4 separate regions of the Homo sapiens genome follow, and all the other regions are linked to region 1. Evidence: promoter capture Hi-C in 16 types of primary human blood cells and fetal thymus (Javierre and others, 2016). All regions are on one chromosome and are shown on one strand. Each heading gives the region's core, a stretch centred on a gene start or on the middle of the fragment in contact. The rest is flanking DNA. Distances are from core to core; before and after follow the strand shown.

Region 1 (3,331 bases), core at 1-2,500:
CAACACATTGTCCTTGGTCAAGACTACAACGTAGAAAGGAACAAGCTAATTAACTACTTAGAATTCCCTCTCCTAAGAGACCACATCGCCAAAGTGGCACCATGACACAGCTTGGTGTTTTGTTGGTCACTTTAGGAGAACACCATTTTGGAGGCCTTGGGTGGAGCTGGAGATAGAGCCATGGAGGTAGAATCGTGTCGGAAAACCTGGGTTTAGCCCCATTTTGTACTTGGGCGTTTGAGCTAATCGCTTAAGTCACGTAAAACAACAAGACTAATAAAGTCTGGGATACAGACTTTAACACCTCAAGTGCTGCCAAAAGTATTTAGAAGACAAAGCGAATCATAGGCACCCTTCACCGAGCACCTCCTAGACATCAAGAACCATGCTAGGTTCCCTACATTCTTCATTTAATGCCAATAACCCCACGAGGCAGTTATCACCTTCATTCTACAAATGGGCCCCACTCCTACCAATTAACTGGCTGAATCAGGATCTGACCCCGGGCCTGCCAACGCTCCCGCTGGTGGATTGCCCGCCTTGTCAGCTCGAGTTGGCAGGACGTGGGAGTAAAAACCCGGCGCCCCAGCCTTCACCGTGCTGCACGAGGAAGCTGGCTAGGCAGGCATGACTTTGTCAGTCAACCATCCCGCAGCCGGGCCCTGGGCTTTGTTAGCAGCCACTTGGCGAGGGCCCCGGGCGGGTGGGGAGGCGGCGCTTCCTCCAAGAGGAGGTGGGACCCCGGCCCCGACGACCTCGGAGCCGCCCCCGGCCCCGGATCGCCGACGACGTACGTGCAGGCCTGGGGATGGGGCGCTGGCTGCGAGCGGCGCGCCCGCCGAGATGGCTGCGGCTGGCAGGGCGGTGGGCGAGGCCGGTGACCCAATAAAGCGGCCGGGCCGCGGGAGGCCCCGCCCGGCCGGGTTCCGGCACTCGCCGCAGGGTCCCGGCCGGCGGCAGGTTGCGCGCCCCCGTCCGCAGCGCTCGGCGTGAGGGCGGCTCGGGAGGAGGGTGTGAGCGCGCGTCGCCGGGCCGGGACCCGGCAAGCAGCGGGAAAGGCGGGAGGCGGGAGCGCCGGTCGCCCGGGAGCCGCGCGGAGGGGCAGGCGGGGCGGGGCGGGGCGCGGCCGGGGGCCCGGGCGGCCGGGAGCCGCGCCGCCCGCGGCAGGCCCGGGCCCTCGGCCCGCCCCGCGCGCGCGCCCCCGCCAGCCCGGCCCTCCTCCTCCCCGCCGCCCCTCCCGCGCGCGTCCACCGGCTCCCCGGCTCGCGCCGCTCCATGTAGCCCCGGCTCCCCGGGCGGCCGCGGAGGAGGGGGCGACCACAAGATGGCGGGTACGTGGCCCCCTGTTCTCCGGGCGGCGGCGGCTCCTCGAGCCCACCCGCCCTCCGCCGCAGCCCTGAGTGGCTGCCGGGCCGGGGCCGGCGTGGGGTCCCGGCGCGGGAAGGCGCCCCCGGGGCGGGGGGGAGGCGGGCGGGGGGGGGGCGTCGCGCCGGGCCCCGGGGCGCTGACCGGGCCTTTCTTCTCTCCCCTCGGCGCAGACCTCTCGCTGCTTCAGGAGGACCTGCAGGAGGACGCAGACGGATGTGAGTGGCCCGGCCTCGCGGTGGCCTGGCAGTCCGCGGGGAGCGGCCGGGGAGGGCGGGCGGCGGCGAGGCCTGGGCCGGGCCCTGGCTGGCTGAGGGGACGGTGGGCGAGGGCGGCCCCAGGCGGGCTGGGGTGGCGATCGGGGGGGAAAATCTCGCGTCCGTGAGGAAACGGCGCGCCCAGGTTCCGCTGGGGGAGGGAGACGCCCGGAGTAACGCCCAAGTTCGCTTTCCGCCCTTCGCTCTCTTCTCCCGGCGCCCCCGAATCGCCTGCGGGCTCAGCAGTGGCGCGGCTGTTTTGGAAGGAGAAGCGGTGGGGCAGGATTTGAAGTGGGGTTTGGGTGTGTTTCTGCCCCTGGTGTCCCCTTCCCCCGTCACTCTAGGAAGGAAGAGGCTCGCGCGGGAGGTGTGTTTCCTTAGAGTCGCTCTTCCAGGAGCGCCCGGGGGTCAGCCTGGGCCCCGGCTAGCCGTCTGGGCTCCCCGACCCGGTTTTGGATTGTTTGAGGATGACATACCTGTCATTTTACTTTGGCTGGTAGCAGTTTTCAGATGCTCCCGATTTGATTAGTGGATTACGAGAAGGTTAGAAGGTGTGGCCTCCGCAGGAATTACTAGGTTTGGAGAGCATATTTCTTTAATGCGGATGTTCAGAAATCACCCAGCCCTCCTTCAGTGTTAACAGTGCAGCTTTCCTTTGAGGTACTGAAGTTTTTAAAGAGTTGACGCTTTTATTTTTAAAAAGACAAAGTTTCTGACATTTCCTGATGGCGACGGAATTGATATTTAGAAAGGAATTTTTCGTCTTATATGTACTTTTCTAAGCCTCAGAAAATAATTTGGGTCACGATAGAAAAGACAAAAGAGTTAAGCAGGTTTGTATTGAAAGAAGTGACAAATTGCAGTTAACTTAAAATAGTTTCTATTCTTGCTAATCTTCCAAAATAGCGACCCATCAAAAAATCAATAGGTTTTGAGATGCATTTTAAAAATGCAGAGTGTGCAAAATATATAAGCGAAGATCATGGGATACATAAGGGACCAAGAAATTGTTCTGAGTTGAGATGATAACCATAGTAGGATTGTGGTCTGTTTAGTGGAAAGCCTACCGGATGCTGAGATTGACTGTCTAGTACCTGTATAAGTAATTTCAGAGATGGCTGCAGTTTGAAATTACTCTTTTAAATACTCTGTAGTTAATCCTTAGCATTGTCTAATGTGGTTCCCTTACTCAGAGTAAACTTAATTTTTAGATTCCTGGTTGTTTTGAGTAAAGTAAGGGGGATTTACTATTTAGATGGATTATCTGAAACGAGTAATTTATCTTTAAAGTAAATGAACCACATCCAAACTTTTGCTAAGTCTGTGTTTTTAGTGAGGTGGCTCAAAACAGCTCTCTTAAAGGGAGCAGTACTCATGTAGTGAAGGGCAGCTTTAACATTTTATTTAATGTTTACCTTAAGCCACTTATCTGCCTAATAGTAAGTTTGAGATATTATTTAAGGCATCTGTTGATTTCAGATCTCTTGCCAGGTTAGGATTGGAGAAATGGCCCTGATTATGTTACCTCGAGGAGGGCTTTTTATATTTATGTTCGACTTCGTAAATAGAAGATTCATTTATTCAGCAAGTATTTATGACTGGAGCAAAAACTTCTCACTCCTGAAGGATGAAATGCAGTCTCAGTTTCTTCCTTAGCCCCCAAGAAGCACAGTGTAGAGGGGAAGGCATACCTGTGAAAAATTCAACCA
Region 2 (3,562 bases), core at 635-3,134, 81 kb before region 1:
GGCAGCAAGCCATACTGCTCGCTGAGAGACGGTTACAAGCTCAAATATGCAGGCTTCTCCTTAGACTACTGATTTGGAAACTGGACTCTGTGTGTTCACAAGCCCTCCAGGTAATTCTGATGTACAGTAAAGTTGGAGAAGCATTGGCCTACATCACAGCACTCCTCAATGTCTAGTTTATATGCGGCTTCTTCAAGCCTCCCTGCTTTCTCTTTCCTCTGCCCAGTTCAGAGTATTCCCATTGGACATTTTCATTCCTCCTTGAGAGGATTTCCACATTTTACACTGTGTCATGGTTGTGTCTCCATTATTAGACCTCAGCTGTGTCATTTCTTTCATCTAGACACTGAGAAGGAGGTTGGACAAGATGCCATTGAAGGTTGCCTCCAGCTGAAATCCTGGGGATGAGCTCATGGAGGGCAGGCCTGGCCCTTCTCCTATCTCCCATTGCACATCATGCCTAAAACATGGCTCCCAAGTTGCCCGTGACAAACTGCCACCAATCTGCAGCAAAATGAGAGGGGGGACAAGTAATGTGATAAACTTTTCTTGGCAGGAAATGTATCCAATTATATTATTCTGAGAGTATTACTTTCCTACTTGGGGGTATGAAAATGTCATTTCTAGGCCAGGAGCGGTAGCTTACATCTGTAATCCCAGCATTTTGGGAGGTTGAGGCAGGTGCCTGTTGTAAACTGTCTCAGAGCCGTAGCTCAGAGAAGGTCAGAGAAAAAGAGAAAACACAGCACAAACAGAGAAGGCCCACCACCGGGACTGTCAGGTTTTGAAGGGAAGGCGAGGGTGAAAGAAAGACACACACAGAGGGAGAGGGCAGCTTAAACAGACACCTGCAGAAGTGGGGACCAGCTTAACACCAGAGCCCACCACTGCTTACAGGCCGGGGATACTTATAAGTATGGGTGGAAGGGGTCTGGGCAGTATGGCTTGCTGCCTGGCAGGATGTTGATAAAATGTTCCCATGATGAGGCGGTTCTGGCCCTTGTTCTGGCAGAATGTGGTGTTCCTTGCCCTTTCTCCCAGCAGAATATGATAGGGGTGTTTCTTTAGTTGGGTCTTTGCCTGTCTGCCTTGTGGTCAGGTGGTTAGGCAGGATGTTTCTTGTGGCCCAAACCCTTGTGAAATGTTTCACTTTGACCAAGGTCTGCAAAATAGCAGGGAGCTTACAAAATGGTGCAGTTTGGACTAACAGGAATAATGAGGACCTGCCACATGCACACGCAGGGCATTCTGAAAGCATGCAAACCTCCTGCCTTCCAGCCTTGCGACGTAACTCACACACGCGCCAACTAGAACTAAGGAGACAACTGTTGAGTGCCTTTTGAGAATTAACAGATAAAGTGTCTATGGAAATCCCTGAAATTTGCTTTAATCCTAATGCCTGGGCCCATTCCAGCAGAGATCAGCATGTTGGACCCCACCAGAGATTAAGCAAAAGGAAAGACAGGCTTAGCAGGAAGGGCGGGACAGTTGTCATCCTCCCAGCCGCCGTCGGGGCCAGCCACAGACTGTGTGTGGTGTTTCTGTTTAATTGTTTGACACACTGAGTGTACCATTCCAAAGTGAGTCCAATTTTTCCTATTTATTCCTTTTTCTATATTTACAGAGTCATAAGTTAAAGAATCTTATAGCAGATGCTTTCATGAAGACTCTGCCCAGTTCAGAAAAACTCTTTCCTCCGAAGAATGCTCCTTCTAAAAAAAAAAAAAAGGGGGAGGGTGGGGCAGGAGACCTGGCAGATACTGCTTTACTACTACCCCAACTGCTTGGCCACAGGTAGGCATGGGTAAATGTCTGATCCAAGGCACACCAGTGAAATTCTCTTGCAGGAATTTGGACCTGAGGTCCTGAGGGTCCACTTGGCTTCTATGTGCAACTGGAACTAAGGTGATGTAGACTCAGGTGCTGTGGGGTGGGTCTCAGGCATGAGGTGAGAGAGGGCCTGGAGCCAAAGTGCAGAGAGAGACACAGATGTGTGACCCTGTGGGAGCAAGAGTCTGAGGACACGGCTGTCATTGGTGCCTCTCATGAAGACAGCCACATCCCCTCACTGAGGATCTCTGAGCCACTCATGAAATGCCTAACAGGTCCCCTTCACTGAGCATGTCACTGCAATGCCGTGGAGACACCACAGGGCCCCACAGGTAACCTAGCACCATGCTAGTCCTGGCACCTTGTGGCTGACCAAGAAATATGTAACACATCACCTGTCACCAGACTAAGAAGAATCTTTGAAAGACTGGTATGTTCCATCTGGAGAGGATTAAGGAAAGCATAACAGCAACCTTCAAATAGTGCAAGCATACTCATCAAAGAATAGAAGGATCAGCTCCTGGATTACTTCTTTTCGTATTCATACCTGACCTTACTTGGGGAGCAAAATTGAAGTGCCTCGAAATTCTGAGAAGCTCCACATGGCAGATTAACTAACAAAGTGTGGATGCAGCAGAGCAACCCATCCCAACTCATCTAAAGGAGTGGCTCACTCTCTCTCTCTCTCTTTTTTTGAGACAATCTCACTTTATCGCCCAGGCTGGAGTGCAGTGGCACAATCTCAGCTCACTGCAACCTCCACCATTCAGGTTCAAGCAATTCTCCTGCCTCAGCCTCCCGAGTAGCTGGGATTATAGGTGCCCACCACCACGCCCCACTAATTTTTTTATATTTTTAGTAAAGACAGGGTTTCACCATGTTGGCCAGGCTGATTTTGAACTCCTGACCTCAAGTGATCCTCCCACCTCAGCCTCCCAAAGTTCTGTGATTACAGGTGTGAACCACCATGCCCGGCTGACTCAGTCTTGACAGAGATGTCCAGGTGAAAGAGCTTCTGGGGAAAGGAGTTAGCTGTCCTCCTCCTCTAGGGGCCGACTTGCCACCTGTCAGGACGTCAGCCACATGACCTCCATAGGAGGAATTGCTCCCCAGAACCTATGTGGCGACTCAGCAGCCTGCCACCCCTTTCCTGTCCAGCCTGACCCACGAGTGAGCTAGAGACCTGCTGGGCAATGTGCTGACTACATAGTTAACAGCAATGGATCTTATGCTTAAACACTGCTTGGAATAGATCTTAAATAGTCTCACCCAAAAAAAACAATAGGCATATAAAGTGAAGGATATATTAGCTTGATTTCACCATTCCACAATGTATACATATATCAAAACATCATGTTGTACACCATAACTATATAGTTTTTATTTGTCAATAAAGGAAGGAAAGAAGGAAGGGAAGAAGGACAAGGTGTGTGTTCGCAGGGCTGAATGCGGCCAATTTTTTAAAAACTTAACTCTGAGAATAATAGATTGCCTTTTTGTGGTAAAAATGACATTTTTAATGACATAAGTATGAAAACAGAATGATAGATGGGTTTTTTAAATTTTTATGTCAGTCATTACTAGACAAAGTGGATTAGCAACTTGAGGTCAGCCCCTTCATTTTTTGTTTTATTTTGTTCTGTGTGTGTGTATACATACATATCTTTTTAACTTATATTAGTGTGTAAAATCCAAGAGTCTGCAACTACTGAACTATATGACTTTAAGCCCC
Region 3 (3,605 bases), core at 9-2,508, 130 kb before region 1:
AGGTGCCCGCCACCACACCTGGCTAATTTTTGTGCTTTTAGTGGAGACGGAGTTTCACCATGTTGGCCGGGCTGGTCTCGAACTCCTGACCTCAAGTGATCCGCCCACCTCGGCCTTCCAAAGTGCTGGGATTACAGGCGTGAGCCACCATGCTGGGCCTAGAGTGGCTGCCTATTACACTATGCAGCACACAATGCCCCAACAGGAGTCACCAGCCTCAATGCAGCCCCTGCCAGGGGTTTTCCCAAGTCCAGCATCTTACACAATAGGGTCTTGTTTTAAGAACCCAGAGGCCACTTACTACAAGCAAGGAAGGCATTGCAGTGTGCGCTGCTACTGCTGACATATCAAAGCCCCCTGGAGGCACCTCTGCCATTAGAGACCCCTGTGCAGCAACTTCCATATGTCATTTCCCAAGAAAACCTGTTTTTCTGTTTACCCCCTTTATTCTAGCATTGGTATGATGTGGACAGAAGATGTGTGAGCACAGTATGATCTGCTTCTGGGTAACATTAACCCACCAAAAGAATTTTTTTTTTTGAGACAGAGTCTTACTCTGTTGCCCAGGCTGGAGTGCAGTGGTGCAATCTTGGCTCACTGCAACCTCCACCTCCCAGATTCAAGCAATTCTCCTGCCTCAGCCTCCTGAGTAGCTGGGATTACAGGTGTGCGCCACCACGCCCAGCTAATTTTTGCATTTTTAGTAGAGACAGGGTTTCACCATGTTGCCAGGCTGGTCTCGAACTCCTGACCTCAAGTGATCCACCTTCCTCGGCCTCCCAAAGTGCTGGGATTACAGGCGAGAGCCACCACGTCCAGCCAAAATAATTTTAAATTTTGCATTTGGAGAAGTATAAATAACTTTACTGTAAAGAGGTGTCATCCTGATGCAATAATGCAAATTAAATCAGGCTCTGAGCAAATTAACTTGTTTCACTGGAAGCGTTAGGTAAGTAGATGATTTCTATGATTCATCCTATAGAGGAAGGAACAAAGGAACTTTTACTGAAAACTCATCATATGACTGGCATTATCCTGGATGTTCTCAAAATACTTGTTACAATGACTTTGTGAGACAGTTATCATTACCAGTGAATCGGAATGTCAGAGAGGCTCAACAGCCGAACTGAAGGCCACACAAACAGCAAGTGAGGGAGTCAGGATTCATCCATTAGGCTGGTCTAACTAGAATCATAGAGCTCCTCTCGTCACCCCAGGGTCTGAGGTCAGAATCAGCTCCAAGTTTGCAGATCAAAGCTCTAGCCAAGGAAGACACAACTGGCCTGGCAGTGTCCTCATTGGAAAATAAAAGATGCTTAGGAGAGAAACTGCTGGGGCTCTGTGATACTCACTCTCCCTTTCAACTATTAGAAAAAGAACCCTGAGTTTTAGCTGGGCCCCTGGTTACCCAGCTAACGATGACATTTTCCCATCTTCCTTGCAGTCAGGGGTGGCCATGTGACCAGGTGCTGGCACACAGGACAGGAGAGTATACAATGTGATGACCCCACAAGCCACCAAACAAGCCCTGAACCAGCCACCAGGAGGACTGAAAAAGCTGAAGTCACTATAATCTGGGATCTCCTGTTTCAGCAGCTTAGTCTGTATCCTCATCAATACAGTGTATCTAAGAAACTTAAAAACCTGTGCTTTACTCTCCATAGGCTAAGAATCATCCAGATAGTTTGTTTACTTTTTTTTTTTTTTTAGCACATTACATCTTCCTAAGCAGTAAATTCATCCTGCACCCTGAGTCTGAATTCTTACAAATTCTTTTTTTTGAGACAGAGTCTCCCTCTGTTGCCAAGACTGGAGTGCAGTGGCACAATCTCGGCCCACTGCAAGCTCTGCCTCCCAGGTTCACGCCATTCTCCTGCCTCAGCCTCCTGAGTAGCTGGGACTACAGGTGCTCGCCACCACACCCAGCTAATTTTTTATTTTTAGTAGAGACGGAGTTTCACCGTGTTAGTCAGGATGGTCTCGATCTCCTGACCTCATGATCCGCCTGCCTTGGCCTCCCAAAGTGCTGGGATTACGGGCGTAAGCCACCGTGCCTGGCCAAATTCTTAGAAATTCTAAGGCAATGAAATCCAAATTTACGAGATGTATTTATATAGTATGCAACTATATCATGCATTACAATCCATTTCTTTAAACTCATATTCTTTCCAGTGTTTTTATTTGGAACATGCCACCTGAGTAGAAAAACAAAATGTTTTTTCTCCTAGTCTACTCTCACAACACAAAATGCTTCTGTGACCAAATGTACAGGAGGTTTTCCCCACACACCAAGCAAGCCACTGATTCTTCAGCGGACACCAGCGTTCTCTAGTTCTCTGAGTGTTCTCTAGTTCAACTCAATTGTGAAGCTACCTACCTGGAGATAATGTCAGATCCCACAGCGGGAGGCTGAGTCCTACAAGGCTGCCTCCTCCTACTCCAGAGGCCTAGCACAAGGAGGAAGGTGTCCTGTGCTTCTGATTGATGGGCTGCAAATCAGGGTTCCCATGACCACTTCCTCAGGTTTGATTAATTTGCTAGAGTGGCTCACAGAACCCCGGGAAACACTTACTGACATTCACCAGTTTATTATAAAGGATGTTACACAGGATGCAGATGAAGAGACTTGTAGGGCAAGGCATGTGGGAAGGGGTGTGGGACTTCCATGCCCTCCCCAGTGTGCCCCTGCGCCGCCCTCCAGGAGCCTCCACATGTTCAGCTATCCAGAAGCTCTCCAAACTCACCCTTTTGGGTTTTTATGGAAACTTCATGACGTAGGCATGCCTGATTAAACCAATGGCCACTGGTGATCAACTCAACCTTCCGCCCCTTCCCTTCCCTGGAGGTCCCTTCCCTGGAGATTGGTGGTGGGGCTAAAAGTCCCAACCCTCCCATCTTGCCTTGGTCTTTCCTGTGACCAGCCCCATCCTAAAGCTACCTGGGGGCTGCCAGCTATCAGTCCATCATGAGCAGGCAAAAAATACTCTTTGCTCCAGAGATTCTAAGGGTTTTAGGAAACAGGGATGAAGACCAAATACACATTTCACAATATCCCACCACCCACCCCACAGTTAGCTCCTCGCCAGGGGGTCTGTCTGCCACACCGGTCTTGCAGTGGCCCAGGCGGCGTTAAGTCATTGGAACCAGGGCTGTGCTTGCACCGCTGCCTTCCATGATGCACTTGGCCTTCAGCTGCTGCATCCACGCTCACCCATTAAAGGCCCGTGGGGTTGCCACAGCAGCAAGCATCATTTAAATGCCGGCCGGCTGGCTGCCTGCCAGGACCACGTTGTTGGTAAGCCTGTCTTGTTGGTTAGCGTGGGGGGCAGACAAAACTCTCTTTATGACCATTCAGTAACAAGAGCTTTTAAAAGCAGAAGGGGGTGGGGTATCTGTTAGAACCCTCTGACCTATTTAGAGACCCCTGCTTGGTTTCCTTATGCTATGGACTATTTCAGCCCCTCCATGCATAACCAACCATCATTACTTGAGATTCTGTAATGGGCATAGGACAATTTGCTCTAGCCTGCAATTTTCTGCCGTCGTGACAACCTTTTACCAATCCAAGATTGATTCACTGTGACACCTGGTGCTAACCCATGACC
Region 4 (3,189 bases), core at 515-3,014, 98 kb before region 1:
AAAAGTAGAGGCCACATGCCTGAACACTATTGACAAGGTACTATGGAATTAATATTTGTGTCCCTCCAACAAAATTCCCATTTTGAAGCCTAACCTCCAATGTGAGGATATTAGGAGGTGGGCCTTTGGGAGGTGCTTAGGTTGTGAGGGTAGAGCCTTCATGAATGGGGTTGGCGTCCTTATAAGAAGAGAAAGAGACCGAGCACTCTCTCAGTCATGTGAAGTTACAGCAAGAAGGCAGCTGTCTGCAAACCAGAAATCGAGCCCTCACCAGGCACTAGATCTGCCAGCGCCTTGGTCTTAGACTTCCCAACCTCCAGAACTGTGAGAATTAAATGTCTATTGTTTAAGCCCTCCAGCCTATGGTATTTTTGTGACAGCAGCTCAAATTAAGACATAAGGGATGGGGGAAGGGACCATGAGAAGCTTGAAAATGCTCCTCAAATGATTCTGATACACACTCCAGAGATGCACTGAGCTCTGAAAGCTGAGGGAGGATGAAAGCAGCAATGCTGACCCTGAACAAAGGAGGAACAAAGGGACCCTGATGGATTCCATCAGCCTGGGATGGGTGCATAAGACACAGTGTTACCATATGCCAGGCACTGCTGGGAAGATAGCCCACTATATCATATTTATTCTCGTGTAACATAGAACGTACCCAGAGTCACCAATGCTGAACATACTTTCCACAAATGGTTCAATTTAGTAGAGGAATCAGTTGTGCCAAGAAATAAATGCTGTGGCTAGCCACTCAACCCTCCCCACCATCCCCCTTCCCCAAGAAATGCCAGTCTCGGGAGAAAAAATAGTAAGTTACTAGAATCTCAGACTTGGAAAGCAAATGTGATCATTACCTAGCCCAACCCACTATCCTATGCATTACTTCCTTCCACAATAACACTAACAAATTCTTATCACCTTATTGGATACTCTGTCATACAGTGCTCATAGCAACTCATGTGAGGTTGCACAGTTCTGATGATCTGCCTTACTGTGAGTATAAATCTGTTCTACTCTTGCGTCCTAGTGTCCCTGGGGAGACAAGAGGCCTTCCATGCGAAGGCCCTGGACATAGGTGAAGTACCCATTACCCAGATGTCTCACCAAATCCCAGGTATTTGACTGCTCTTTAATGAGCCACCATATACATTCCAACAAAGATCACAAGATGCTTCAACAAGCTCCTTACCAGAAGCAGGGAAGCCATCGGCTCTTTTAACTGATCACTCAGCTATTGAGGAAGTGGTAGGAATTTCTAAATTGTTGTCAAGACAACCAAAGTCCAAATATAAATCTCTTTGGGATTCCATCAGGAAGCAGTTTTTAAGTGCACGCAGTTTTTAAGTGCACGCACACAAATACCCCAAGGAGATAACAAAACAAAGGTCCCCTCCTTCTCTTTCTCCTCCTCCCCACTCTCTCCCTTCCTCCTGCTTCTTGCCACATGGTGATGTGTGTTAAAAATGCATACTGGGAAACTTTTCCACCTTTGGGGTTGAAGCAGCTGCTGCCTCAGTGTTGTTTTTGTTAAGTATTTTTTGTTGTTGTTGTTAACATACTTTGTTGCCTTTAAGCTTCATGTTTCATAATACCAGTTCAGATCACAAAGTGGGACGAATGACACTTTCCTGGTAAGAAGGAAACTCATGGGGTCCTGCCCAGGGTGCTTCCCCCTATCAAGCACACCCTCCTGCACGGCTGACTTCCACAGGTGACTCGGCTCAGGCCAGGAAAGGGCGTTCACAAAGGCTTGCTGGGCTGTCCCCATGTGGAATAAACCCAAGAAAGTCCACACATGAAATGTGAGCCAAGAATTTATAACAGGTAACCTAAACAAACCCAACGCTCTTCAGTCCTTGGTTTTCCAAGAACACAAAGCATTCAGAGAATGTTCCACAGGCCATTATCCATCCCATGTGGGAGCATTCACCAATAGAAATAAGCTTGGACATTCCTAATGTGCCAGGAAGACAGGAGAGGTTCAGGTAAAGAAGACCTGGCACCCGGCCCACTTTCACTCCCACCTGCTGCAAATGACTCTAACGTCAGGAGGTAAGACCTCCGACCCCATGGATGGAGCAGGAAACTACAGCAAAGAGTGACCAGCAGGGAGCCTGTGCTGAAAGCGCCTACTGCCCATGCCTAAAACAACCTATACCTTAAATGCGAAGCATGTCCCCAAGTCCCCACTGAGCACAGTACCAGGCACAAAAAGACCAACCCCTCAGCCTTCCCAGTGAGAGTGATATTTTGTTATGAAGTCTATGTTCTCTATCACCTTATAAGGGAAACCCGACAGAAAGTGATTCTAACAGGCAGAAAGAAGGTGTGGCTGTCAGGGTCTTGGTCATAGCAAGACTTCAGGGAGGTGTCTCATGGCTAAAAAACAGGAAGCTGAATGCCAGCCACACACAAAACTTCACCCAGAAAAGACAGACCTCCCTACGCAAAGCACAAATGAGCCCAAGGTTCCTGTTAAAATGTTGAAAGAGCCTGGGCAACATAGGGAGACCCCATCTCTACAAAAATAATAAAAAGTATTAGCTGGGCTGGGTGGTACACACCTGTGGTCCCAGCTACTTGGCAGGCTGAGGTGGGAGGATCACCTGAGCTTGGGAGGCTGAGGCTGCAGTGAGCCAGGATGGCACCATTGCACTCCAGCCTGGGTGACAGAGTGAGACCCTATCTCAAAAATATACATATATTTTTTAAAGGACTTTTGGACTTAGCACTGACTGATCCACAGGGTCTCTCGAATCAAGAGAATAAACCTAGGCTGATGCAGAAGGATCCACTGAGCCCAGGAGTTGGAGGGTGCAGTGAGCTATGATGGCACCACTGCACTCCAGCCTGGATGACAGAATGTGACCTTGTCTCAAAACAAAAAAGAGGAGAGAGAGAGAGAGAGAAGAGAGTAAACCGAAGACAGTCAAATGGTTTTGATCTCCCTCAATGTTATCCCACCCAGAGAATCAGCCTAATTGGATGAGCAGCTAGAAACACAGCCTGCTGCACACATCTCACCCAGGAAAGAGCCAGCCAAACGAGGGGATGTGGCAAATCTTACTCAGTGTGGACAACAAGGTCATTTGGTCTTTCAAATAAAATGTCCTCTGATTTCAATAAAACTGAAACTTACAGCCACCCTCAAAAAAAAAAAAAGGAAGCCACAAATGTGGTGTGATA

The links. The method cuts DNA at HindIII sites, captures the fragments that hold promoters and counts their contacts. A CHiCAGO score of 5 or more calls a contact.
Region 2: a fragment that was not itself captured here is called in contact with the fragment with the promoter of PPP4R1 in region 1 in 1 of 17 cell types (neutrophils); the score reaches 6.5 in neutrophils.
Region 3: a fragment that was not itself captured here is called in contact with the fragment with the promoter of PPP4R1 in region 1 in 1 of 17 cell types (neutrophils); the score reaches 7.6 in neutrophils.
Region 4: a fragment that was not itself captured here is called in contact with the fragment with the promoter of PPP4R1 in region 1 in 1 of 17 cell types (neutrophils); the score reaches 11.0 in neutrophils.

What each region holds. Positions count from the first base shown.
Region 1 is chr18:9,612,478-9,615,808 of GRCh38, reverse strand. It overlaps PPP4R1 (protein phosphatase 4 regulatory subunit 1), which reads left to right and starts at 1,250. Exons shown (of 20, transcript NM_001042388.3): 1 at 1,250-1,331; 2 at 1,539-1,583. The coding sequence starts at 1,325. PPP4R1-AS1 (PPP4R1 antisense RNA 1) reads right to left here and starts at 1,002. Exons shown (of 3, transcript NR_110773.1): 1 at 795-1,002. RefSeq lists silencers at 554-1,063, 1,164-1,433, 1,534-1,783 and an enhancer at 2,054-2,133. The HindIII fragment of the contact is 7,461 bases long and covers 1-3,331 here.
Region 2 is chr18:9,693,768-9,697,329 of GRCh38, reverse strand. All of the region lies in intron 1 of LOC124904244 (a long non-coding RNA gene), which reads left to right. Among named protein-coding and RNA genes, the nearest start is that of RAB31, 13 kb to the left of the region's middle. The HindIII fragment of the contact is 9,250 bases long and covers 1-3,562 here.
Region 3 is chr18:9,737,648-9,741,252 of GRCh38, reverse strand. The region is part of intron 1 of RAB31 (RAB31, member RAS oncogene family); the gene reads right to left. Among named protein-coding and RNA genes, the nearest start is that of RAB31, 31 kb to the right of the region's middle. The HindIII fragment of the contact is 6,224 bases long and covers 1-3,605 here.
Region 4 is chr18:9,710,894-9,714,082 of GRCh38, reverse strand. The region is part of intron 1 of RAB31 (RAB31, member RAS oncogene family); the gene reads right to left. All of the region lies in intron 1 of LOC105371981 (a long non-coding RNA gene), which reads right to left. Among named protein-coding and RNA genes, the nearest start is that of RAB31, 4.2 kb to the right of the region's middle. The HindIII fragment of the contact is 369 bases long and covers 1,580-1,948 here.